Linked DNA regions of Homo sapiens: region 1 is linked to region 2. The links are contacts of gene promoters, found by promoter capture Hi-C in blood cells and fetal thymus (Javierre and others, 2016). All regions are on one chromosome and are shown on one strand. The core of a region is centred on a gene start or on the middle of the fragment in contact, and the rest is flanking DNA. Distances in the headings are between cores, read along the strand shown. Region 1 holds the start of KRT5 (keratin 5). Region 2 holds the start of KRT73 (keratin 73).

Region 1 (6,156 bases), core at 1-2,500, 98 kb before region 2:
TGCTCCAGGAACCGCACCTGGAGGGGAGCAGGGTTTGAAGATAGAGAAACTTGGATTTCATGTTCTATGATCAACTCACTAAGGTGCCTCCCACCTCTTTCCGTCCCTCTAAAGCTTTTCTGTGCACTGTGCCTGGCCCTGGGCCCCAGGAGGGGAGGTGCAGACTGAGGCACCCAAACTCACTTTTCCAGGGGGAGATAGGACACCTATCCAGGGCACAGAAAGCACTAGGAGTGCTGCTTGGAGTGTGTCCCGGCTCAGGGGTGGCTGCAAAGGCACTCAGGCTGCTGCCCATGCACTTGTCTACCTTCCTGTACAGTCAGCCCCTTTATATATGGCATGAAATTCATCTCTCTGTCCAACAGTTGTTAAGAGGCCCTTGTGAGCTAACCTCTGAATGGGAAGAAATAATTCTCCCTTCCCAGCTGCCAGTCTAATTCAGAACGTGTCCACAAATCCAGGGCACAGAAACAAACGGAAACACAGAACTGTACAACTATAAAAGTATTTGCACAAAGCCAAAACATCTTCCTTCTTTCTCTCTCTTTGGCATTTATTTCAGACCCACAGTGATTTTTTACAAAAGATCGTAGCTCACCTTGTCGATGAAGGAGGCAAACTTATTGTTGAGGGTCTTGATCTGCTCGCGCTCCTCGGTCCTCACCCTCTGGATGCTGGGGTCGATTTGCAGGTTGAGGGGAGTCAGGAGACTCTGGTTGACAGTGACCTCTTGGATACCTCCAGGAGGGCAGACAGGAAAGCCAGGGCCACCGAAGCCACCTCCAAAGCCAGCTCCGCCACCGAGCCCAAAGCCACCACCAGCTCCACCGCCGAAACCAAATCCACTACCGGCACCACCTCCAAAGCCATAGCCGCCTCCAGCACCAGCACCAAACCGGTTCCTGAAGCTGCCACCACTAGTGCTGATGGATATCCTCTTGGAGCCCCCCAGGTTGTAGAGGCTCCGGCTGCCATAGCCACCCACTCCACAAGCACCCGCAAGGCTGACCCTGCCGAAGCCACCACCACCGCCACCCCCGGACCGGGACACGGAGGTGAAGCTGGTGCGGGAGACAGACGGGGTGATGGCAGAGGCGGTGCTGAAGCTACGACTGCCCCCGCTCCGGAAGGACACACTTGACTGGCGAGACATGGTGGCTTGTTCCTGGTGGAGCAAGAGAACCAGGCACTAGTGGGTTGGGAGGTGCTGGAGAGAACAGAGCTCAGCAGGACGCAGAAGGTGGCTCTGTTACCCAGGAACGGTGATGCCCCCTTTTTATCCCTTCCAGAACTGGGCTGGGCGAGAGAGCTGTCGAGCTGTGAATGATTAAGTGGGCTGGGCATGCCTGGGGGGCAGCTGTGAGCTCACCGGTCACACCTGCACAGTGGTGTGGGGTGCAAACGCTTTCTTCCTGGCAGGCTCTGCTCAGTTAGAAATAACCTTGCCTTGCAGCACTGATCTCTTGGCAGCAAGTTGGTGACGCTGCTAGCAAGTATGTCTTCACCATAGAGGCTGGGGGCTGTGAGCAGCCCAAAAAGGATGCCAGGAACTGAGGGGGCATTGGCATGGCCAGTGTCCTGGGGACTCTTACAGGACCAGGAGTATTGACAACCATCCCAGTACGGTACATGCTGAGCACCTGCCCTTCCAGCTTGGGGAAGCTGTCCATCAGCGGGGGGCAAACGATTCCCCAGTGATCTGCTCTTACACTTTTCCAGGCAGCAGGTTGCTGCAGGGTTTTCCCCTCTGGGAAAGGCAATCTGTAGCCTTATATTCTTGGTTATGTGCTAGAGGGAAAATAGAGTTTCATCCTTTTCTGCACAATTTTTTTCTTAGGGAAGGCACAGCTATCCCAGAGCCCACTGGGCAGATCTGCCTGCAAGGTTTAGGCCAGAGAATGTGGGAAGCCCTCAGCGCCCCCTATAAACCACTTTGACCTCTTTAAGGCCAGGTTTATCCTTCCATAGCTCCTCCTAACTCAGCATTTTTTCTGCCCTTTGACCTTTTCCTTGCTCTTTGGCCTGGGCAGGACTCTGTGGGGGGTTTAGGAAACCCGGGGATCCCATGCAATCCCTTAAAAAAAAACCCTGAGACTCATGGGCTATAGCGTCTCTCTTTGGGGGTAGCTACTCTGCCGGTTCCCCAGCCCCCCAGGTGTGTTCCAGCAAGCTCTATTCCACTAGGGAAGAAATGAGTCATCGTATGTGTTGATACAGGCTGAAGGCCGCCACAAACACATACCTGCAGGAGCTTCTAATCTCATCAGGAACATGTTGAGAGTCTGACGGCCTGTTATAACGGCGAACCACCCTGTTCCAAGCAGCGGGACTTGCTCTGCTTTCTCTATGCTGTAGCCCACAGCCTCCTTCAGGGCCAAGGCAATGGAAAACGGGATTCTAAGTCTATGGATTGTCCTGCCAGAAAGGCTAGCCAGAGCAGGCCTGTGGGCCCAGGCAGCTGGCATGACAATCTGCCAGCTGCTTTAGGGAGGGCCCTTTGAGATCCCCTCTGCAAAACTTGTCTGGGGGGTTGTGGCACCAGGTGGAGGAAAGGGGGTTTCTGATGAGGTTTTAACACACGTCTGTTCTAAACCACACCCACTCTTTTTGGCAGCAGATCTGAGTGGGGCCACCTCTCTGCCGTCCCCCAAATAGAAGCAGGGCTCTCAGGCAGGACAGTGCTTGGGCTGTTCAGAGTTTCGGGGGCGCCCTGTGGCCCGAGGCTGGAGGTAGGAATGCAATGGGGATGGCTTCAAAGCCTCAGGGAGGAGGGGCTATATTCTCAAGAGTAGAAGAACAGGACCAGACCCAGGCTCAGGAATCTCTCACCAGGGCCTGCGGTTGGCCACAAGGAAGCCAAGGCAGTGGGAAAATGACTCCCTGGTGCTGAGGATCAGCTGAAACAGTGACTTCTCACCAGAGGGCTGCGATGAGCAAGCAGCTGACAGGTCAATCTCGGCAGACAGACCAATGGCCGGAGCCGGTCTTACAGGTCTTGAGCAAAATGGTTTGGGTGGCCTCCCTGGCTGGAGCATTTCTGAGACCCTCAGAGATGAATTGTGCTGAGCTCACCATTTTCACATTTGGTTGCTTTCTGGAGAACAGATGTGAGTGTCCTGGAGGCCTGAGACATACCAGGGGACCCTCGGCTCCTGATAGAACAGAACAGATCCAAGCCTGAAGCAAGTGTCTGAGGACTCGTAGTGGGATGCTCCTGCTCCACTCAAAGATCGATATCGGGGTATATCCCCACCACCACATACACTCACAGGTCCCGGGTACAGACCTCACTGCCCTCAGGGAAGCCCCACCCCTCCTGAGACACTGGGACATTCTCTTCTCCCCATTCATTCTCCTCCCAGCTGTGTTGTGAAGAAAGAGGACTTGGCAGAGCAGGAATGCGTTCTGGCTAGTCTGAGGATTGCTAGAGTGTGCCAAGCTCAGATCCATGTGCCAGGGACCAACGGTGAGTGTGTGGTGCTCCATGGGAGCAGGGAGCATGTGGGTGCTCCATGGGAGAAGCAGCAGCACTCTTCTATCCGAGCTTCGTGGGAATCCTCCCATGAGCAGGCAGGGCAGCCCCTCCCTCAATGCCAGACCTGGACAGGTATAAATAATGGAGCCGCTCCTGGTGGGGAGCCAGGCACCAGCACCACTGCAGCTCGGGAGAGTCCCACCCCAGCCTGGAATTTCACTGTGGCAGGAAGGGAGGGATTGTGTTAGGCTCACCAGGGAGCTTTCCTGCTGGGCACCCCACAGAGGCAGTTCCCAGGCTTGGTGGGACATGTTGCTCAGCTTCTCCTCTGGGTGCTGCTTTCCTTGTCAGCAGAAGACAGTGCAGGGCCCGCCCTGCTGCTCTCCCCATCAGAGAAAGGACAGTAAGCTGGCTGCCCTGACCTCTCTCGCAGAGCTGTGCAGGGAATGTAGGACCTGGTCAGCATTTCATACATGGAGAAGCCCTTCACAGACACCAGGGAGAGGGTGGTATCCATTCGTGGAACAAGGGTTAGGCAAATCCTGCCATCCCAGCCCAGGATTCCTTCTCCTCAGAGCCTCCACTCCAATCTGTAGGGCTTTAGTAGAAGATACATTTAATAGAGCATGATAAATAGAACATGTTCCATAAAACAGCATTTGTACATATCCTCTAAGTCCCCCCCAGCAGGGCAGTCTCCAAGGTTAGGGAACATCTCTGCATGGCCCACACCCTCAGCCCAGCCTTGGGCACTGGAAGTGTTCTGCAGATATTTTTTGGAGTGAATTGACAGACAGAAAATCCTCTTCCTCCGCTCCTTCCCCAGATTGTTATGTGAAGCCCACAATGGCAAGAACCTCAATTGCTTTTGCACCAACCTATATCTACACCAACCTATGTATAACAGAATGTATATACATTATATATATTCACATATATTTCTGTGAATCCTCCAGCCCTATGCTGAGTCTCAGAGTCTTGTCCATCTGATTTTGTCTCTCAGTCCGTGTCTACAGGATGAGTCTGTTGTCCCCTTCACACTGGGTATGCTCTGTGTTTAGGATTTAGGATTTAATCTAGCATTTAGGATTCTTTATTCCTTAGGCTTCCCTCCATCCTTCTTCTTCCCTCACCCTTATTCTGAGGGTGTTCTGCATCTGAGCCCACTAACAAGTAGCCTGCACGTGCCACCCCAGCCCCCAGGCCCCTCCAGGAGAGAAAGAAAGCTTTAGTGGCCTCAACTTTGCAGCCCTTCCACCTCACGCTTGTTCAGCACAAAAAGTGGGGAGCAATAGTTGAGGTGTGAGTCACCCTATTCATTGGGCTATGGTTGGCAGCCCCATCAGGGAGCCTGCAGCCAGATTCGCAGGATGGGGAAGGGCAGATGGAACAGCGGGCCAGCCCAAGATAGCTCTTCACAAAGCCCTAGCCTCAGGGGGAATTGAGGGAAGAATTTTCCTGCCTCCACCCAAAGCCAGCGGAATCTTGCCCCCATCCCAACCTGGGTCCCAGCTCTGGTCCTAGCTAGATTCTCAGAATCACAGGGCCCTGAGGGGAGTGGCCACTCTGGATCTGCAGAGCTGGACACACCACCCCCTCCCTCCTACAGCCCAATGTCTCTAGGGCTTTCAGACCCCAGTCTGAAAACCGGACTAGGTAGAAAGGCAAATGTCCAGACATAAAGCAACTGCTCAGCCTTGGCTCAGAGGGCCTTTGGAGGTGAGTCCCTGCTGCCATTATTGAGGTCATAGTGACAAGTTACCCCCTGGAGTTGAGTTTTTCTTGTGCACGGGCTTCGCACACATTGTGGGTCACAGCATAGGTGCAAAAGCATGTGGCACCACTCCAGACCATGTGTTGGTCCTGACCCAGTCCTTGGATGGGTCTGGGACCCTGAGCAAGTTGCCTAACCTCTCACTGCATAGTTTTGTCCAGTGCAGCTGGGAGAGAAGGGAGGGGCCTGGGCTCATTGGAGGGGCCATGCAAGCTGGAATTTTAATTTTGAGCTGGCTGGGGCTGAGCAGGAAGGGAGGGGCAGGCCTGCAGGGGGCTGTGGGGAGCAGCCTTGGCCCCCATCCCTTAGATTCAGCAGCCGATTGGCCCTGGCAGGAGAGGGTGCAGAGCAGAGCCCTCCGCTTCCCTCCAGCAGGCCCCTGCAAGTCTGAGGAATGTTCTTCCCTCGTATGAAAGGTGTTTTGCTCATGGCACACCAAACTCTTTGAAAATCCCCCTTGGTTGATTGAAACTATGGGCTGGAAATCAACAAATACTTTAATTAGTCAGAGGGACTAAAAAAGGATATACAGCAAAATCCTCTGCGCTTTGCTTTCTCATAGAGGGTGGTTTTATTTTTTAAATAAACACTTACGTAGGAGTGACCATGTGCCAGGCACTGCCCTGCACACTTTACATATATGAATATGAAACTAGAGCATGCAAAGAAGGGCTCTTAGCACTTCCTCAGCTTGGCTGTCCAATGTAGGTGTCAGTGTGTCCCATACTCTGGGGATTTGCAGCCTCCCTCTTCAGTGGAGAGGCAGAGACATGACTCATTTACACCAGGTTGTATCCCTGCAGCATCAGAGGTGCAGAAGGAAGCTTGCTGACATCCCCAACTCACCCACTGTTCCATTTCTCCCTGCTACTTTCTGTTCTCTCACCAGTAGCCACAACTGGGAACG
Region 2 (5,783 bases), core at 2,369-4,868:
AACAGAGGGAGGCAAGGACAGCCACGGCGATTTGCCAGAAACTAGCAGAGTTGGAAGGCAAACCTGCAGCCCCTCCCAAAGCCTGTCCTGTTCCCCAGCCAGAGGGGACATGAGTTGGGACTGACTATCCACATCTAGGTTCCTGTCCACAGACAAAGTACTGTGTGCTAAACCAACACCAGGTGTCCCAAAATGTCCCAAGCAGCAAGCCCTTCATCTCCTCCTTCAGCACTTTGGCTCCAGGCCCTTCTGCGGGGGGCTCAGACCTCAGCTGCTCCTCTCTCTTAGCCCAGCACCCACTGCTGGGGGACTGAAGGGAACCCATGCACCCTCCTCACCTTCTTAAGCACCACAAATTCATTCTCAGCAGTTGTGCGCTTGTTTATTTCTTCTTCATACCTGCAGGGAAAGCATCACAGGAAGCAGAGTGTGTGTCTGTGTGTGTGTGTATACGTTCTCATAGTGAAATGAGAAAAGAGATACCCATATTATATGCCTTTTAAGAGGTATTATTCTATACCTTTGCAAGTCCATCCCAACACACCAGGACTATTTGGCCAGAGTTGGAGGCCGGGTATGAAGTAACCTCCTCCTGAGCCTGGGTGGTTTGAGGTCTGATTTCCTCTGATGCCTGGGGAGTGAGTAGGTTCTTCCTCTTCCCACTCAGTATCTGAATCACAGAAGCATGCCAGCTACCCCTTTCAGCCATGATTCTTGTGTCAATCCTGCTGCCTGACAACCTACCAACAACTCCCCTCCATCCCTAGGCAGGGGTCCCAAGGAAGCCAGAACTATCTCCCAGGGGAGAAAGAAGGCACATGGCCCGTGTCCAGGACCGAAAGGCAATGAGAGAGGAAGCCCAACAGGAACTCCACCTCCTTCCCTGTGGCAGAGAGCAGCGGGTGGGTGGGGGGTGGTTCTTTGGAACTCAGGGGCACAGTGGTGAGCTTAGGAGCCAAGAGGCTGCGGCACACACAATACAGGCTCCCTTGAACAGGGAGCAGGAAGGAGCATGCCAAGGAGGGGATCACCTGCCAGGACAGCCCTGACGCTGCCCAAGAGGCTGGTTGTCCACTGTCTAGTCTGCCTCGTTGCCCATAGAAGGCTCTCATCTTGCTGGGACAGATGAACCCAATACCTCCAAGGCCAGAGGCAAACATCCCAGTGCCTGCTGGGAAAGCCTCACCCTGGGAGGCAGACCAGCCTGGAGTGGCGTCCTGCTCACCTCTTCTTGTAGTCCTCCACCACTTCGCGCACGCTCCTCAGCTCCGAGTCCAGCCTCACCCTGTCCCCAGACAGCGTCTCCAGCTGCTTCCGCAGGTTGCTGATGTAGCCCTCAAGGATGGGCTCCAGGTTATTCTTGCAGTTGTTCAGGTCCAGCTGCTGTAGCAGCTCCCACTTGGTCTCCAGCACCTGGTTCTGCTGCTCCAGGAACCGCACCTGGAACCCATGCCACACATACTTAAGCAATGTGGAGAGGGGATGTGAGAATTCCCTTCCTGGACAGGAACTGTGTTTTCTTATGCTACATTAGCTTTAAAAATGAGCCTCAGCCCTTAAAAACTGCCACCCATGCCACTCACACCCCCACTCCTTACCTAGGGTCCTTTATCTGACTGAAGTTCTCACTCTGAGGCAGCCCTTAAGGTTGGGAGGGGCACCAATGTCTTCATTTCCCTCTCAAACTATCAAGATCTAGATCTCCTGTCTCCTCTGCACTTATCCAAACCTGCCTGGACCGATGTCCATGTTCAGTCCAGGCCACCTCTCCAAGGCAGCCCCTTAGACACAAGCTGGCCTGTGCTAGCCTTCACACTGTCAGGCCTTCTGCTCGGGGTCTGGTGGCCCGTGCTCTGCCTAGTCTCTCCCTCCTTGTGCGTGGGCTCTCCCAGCCCAGCCAGAGGCAGATGTTCAGCTTATCTGGGGTCTCCGGCCCTCCTAAGTTGCTTTCATGTCTGAATCTCTACTATCTCAATCACAGCATTGTCCCAGCAGCAGAACAAGCATTCTCAAGTTGCAACCTACAAATATATCATTCCCTTGCTTAAAACCCTCAGGTGGTTCCACATCACCCTCAGGGTCAAGTCCATATTCCTTATCACACTCTTCATAATGTGCCCAGCCCTCCTGGCTTCCTTCTTTACTCATACAGTGATGTCGTAAACCGAAGGTCTCCCATTCCCCAGACAAGTTCTACCATGCTGCACGTGCTGTCTCCCTAGATTGCCTTTTCCCCACCTCCATCTGAAAACTCCTACTCATGCCTCACCACCCTACCTCACTGTCGCTCCGGGTGAGCTTCCCCTGCTCCTCTAAGCTTAGGAAGTCTCTGCTTCCCAATACCTTCCTACCACTTTGTTCCTCAGTGATTCTCAAACCTGAGTGTACATCAGCATCACCTGGAGAGCTTGTTAAAATGCAGGGTGCTGGGCCCTGCTGCAGAGTCTCTGATTCAGTTGCTCTGGGGTGGAGCCTGAGAGTGTGCATTCTAACAAGCGTCCAGGTGACGTTGCTGCTGCTGGTTCCAGGGCCACCTTTGAGAACCACTGCTCTAGGGCACCGTGACCTCCAGCTGCCTTGCCTCATAGGCTGTGTGTGTTACGGACTGAGTCTGAGCTTTCAGGGGACACAGGAGGAACAGCTGGGTCGCATGGCAGTCTAGATGCCCCAGGCTGTCAAGGGCATCTCCTTCGCCTAGCTTCTAAGTCTCACAGGCTGTCACTCTGCTACTTCTCAACTCAGAGACCGCTCTCATTGCTTCCTGGACACCTTCCTGGGCTAGGCTGCTGGCTCCTCTCACCCCTCCAACCCTGGTCCCTTGCCTCTGATGTCCAGGCTTTGTCCAGTTCCTCCCTGGGCTATGTCTGCATCCTGGGGAGGTGTCCTGCCTTCGTCTGCTTCAGACAGGGAGCACCCCAAGGACAATGAAGGCGGGGGAAGGAAGGGGCTCTACGGCATGAGCAAGCCTTATGGGCCCAGCACCTGGGGAGCTTTCAAGTTGTTTACCTGGTGTCTGATTTTGCTGGGAGAAAATGATTTCTTGCTCTCAGGCAAATTGAACCACAAATTAGGGCAGTGGCTCCCTCCTGAGTCCTTAAAAGGGGAGCCCAAGATCAGCTTTCTCCAGAAAGACCCACCTTGTCAATGAAGGAGGCGAACTTGTTGTTCAGCACCTTGATCTGCTCCCGCTCCTGGGCACGCACTTTCTGGATTTCAGGGTCCAGCTCCACGTTCAGGGGTGCCAGGAGGCTCTTGTTGATGGTGACCTGATGGATACCCCCGGGCGGGCACAACGACGGACACACGGACCCCAAGGCCACACTGCCAAACATGCTGCCAGCAAAGCCACTGGCCCGGCCCCGGCCAAATCCATAGCCTCCTGCCCACCCACTGCCACTGGCCACATTGAAAGAGATGCTCCGGGCACCCCCCAGGCTGTAAAGGCTCCGACTGCTGAAGCCTCCACTGAGCCCTTTGCCCCCTGCTCGGTAGGAGGATGAGCTGCCCCCTGAGAGCACAGCGGAGCAGCCGCTGAAGCCCCCCTTGGCAGCAGCTCCCGACTTGTAGGTGAATTGGCGGCTCATGGTGGGGAGGCCAGAAAGTGGGGATAAGATGCTGACCCTTAGCTGAGATGCAGTTCACCAGCCTGTGATCCTGGGCTCCCACTTTATAGGACTCAAGAGGGAGCCATGGGCCTAATTTGTGGGTTCAGTTTGCCTGGAAGCAAGAAATCATTTTCTCCCAGCAAAATCAGACACCAGGTAAATGACTTGAAAACTCCCAAAGTGCTAGTCTTGCAAGTCTTGCTCATGTAATTTGAGTTTTATCTAATGAACATGTGTAATTAGCATGGGCACATTATCCATAGAAAGATCTTAGGTGGGAGGTTTGTCGCAGTCTCAATTGCTGTTCCCCAGGGAGTGGTGGGGCCTGGGATTGTAGGGGTACAGAGGGGAGACCTTTAATTGACAGTGTCATCTGTTAGAAATCTCACAACCATGCCAGCATCAGATGGGCTGCTTCAGGGACCCTGGCTGAGCTGCTTTTATGTGGTTAAGAAGAGGCTGCTGCTGCCTGGCTTCCCAGAGTTCCTGGAGACAGGTTTGATGGCTGGCCAGGGCCATAGGAGAGGAGCACACTGGGAATCCAGGACCAGCCTCTGGCTGCCAGCCCCCTGCTGTGCCCTCCCAGGCAGCTCTCCTGCTCCTCTGTGCCAGCCGGGCTGCCCTGCTCACCTTCCTTTGCACACACTGACTTCTTTTTCCCTTTACCATCCCACTACCCTGACTCTTGACCTTGAAATTATGGTCATTGCACCATTCACGATGGCTGACACTGGTGCAGCACTTTACAGTGTAACAGAGCTCCTCACACAAGAAGCTCATTTAATCCACTTAGTCTGCATGGAGGGGAATGGTGATGATCCACATTACACAAATGGGGAAACCAAGGTTCAGATAATTGAGGATGTCATTCCTTTAGCAAACATTTAGTGAGTCCTTTCTTTGTGTGAATCCCAGAGAATGAAAATGCCCCCAAAAAGCACAGGCCCCAGCCTTGAGGACTCCCTTGGCTGGTCTTCTGACTCCACATTCAGAGCTATGCCCGCCTTATTCATTCGTCCATCTATCCGTCCAACCAGCCAGCCAGCCATCTACTTGTTCATTCATTTATCCATTCGTTTAACAGACTTCTCTTGAGGGCTGACTCTCTCCCAGGTACTGTGCTAGGCTCTTGGGTCCCGAATTATGAAGACCAAACCTAGCTCACAATTTTGGAGATGGGGAGGTAGGGGAAGACATTTGAATTTCATGGATCCTTGACATTGCCAAAGTATGTGACCCAAGAGTTTCCCAAATCCCAAATCCCAAATATATCCATAGTATAGAATTTCCTCCATAAAAACACAAGTATTTCACTAGCTGGAGTACTTGAATGAACAGTTGGCCCATCCTTCTTTTCTATTTCTGTATAGAGGTTATGATATGCCTCTAAAATTGTTGTACTAAGCAATTGCCAAATTCAACCTCCCCTCTGTTTTATACAATATGGTTGTTTTCTAGTTAAGAATAATCATTTTCTTTGATGTCTTCAATTTCACTAAAGGCAATGCCACTTGGAAGTCCTTTAATCTTTTTTAGCTAACATGAAGTTCTATTCCTTTTTTTCTTTTTTTTTTTTTTTTTTTTTGAGATGGCGTTTCACTCTTCTTGCCCAGGCTGGAGTGCAATAGCATGATCTCGGCTCATCGCAACCTCCACTTCCTGGGTTCAAGGGATTCTCCTGCCTCAGCCTCCTGAGTAGCTGGGATGCAACACCACGCCCGGCTAATTTTGTATTTCTAGTAGAAATGGGGTTTCTCCATATTGGTCAGGCTGGTCTCGGTCTCCCAACCTCAGGTGATCTGCCCGCCTCAGTCTCTCGAAGTGCTGGGATTACAGGCGTGAGCCACCGCACCTGACCCAAAGTTTCTATTCCTTTGTAAGTTTCTTTGTAAGGCACAAAGAAGACCAACAAAACTGCATTGTGATGAGAATGCTTAGTATTCCAGCCAGAATCACTCCCTAATTGGCTCATTTCAGCACACCAGCACTGGGGTGGAGGTGATTCAGGCCTGCATCTCAGCAAAACTACAAATTGCTGCATGTCACAGGCCCTGAGATAACCCCCAATGGCATTTATGCTGTGAATGCCAACTCTGCAGTATGGCGTGGATGTGCTTACGAGCAAACAGCCCCTCTCCTTATGGTTTTCACTTCCCCTCCCCTCCCTGGCCTTCTCAT

The links. The method cuts DNA at HindIII sites, captures the fragments that hold promoters and counts their contacts. A CHiCAGO score of 5 or more calls a contact.
Region 1: a contact is called between the fragment with the promoter of KRT5 here and the fragment with the promoter of KRT73 in region 2, in 1 of 17 cell types (neutrophils). The highest score is 6.2, in neutrophils.

The regions. Positions count from the first base shown.
Region 1 is chr12:52,519,144-52,525,299 of GRCh38, forward strand. KRT5 (keratin 5) reads right to left here and starts at 1,251. Exons shown (of 9, transcript NM_000424.4): 1 at 599-1,251; 2 at 1-17. The coding sequence starts at 1,153. RefSeq lists enhancers at 1-338, 3,158-4,123. The HindIII fragment of the contact is 4,587 bases long and covers 113-4,699 here.
Region 2 is chr12:52,614,941-52,620,723 of GRCh38, forward strand. KRT73 (keratin 73) reads right to left here and starts at 3,619. Exons shown (of 9, transcript NM_175068.3): 1 at 3,138-3,619; 2 at 1,226-1,440; 3 at 339-399. The coding sequence starts at 3,584. KRT73-AS1 (KRT73 antisense RNA 1) reads left to right here. Exons shown (of 3, transcript NR_126005.1): 3 at 1-365. The HindIII fragment of the contact is 4,368 bases long and covers 2,316-5,783 here.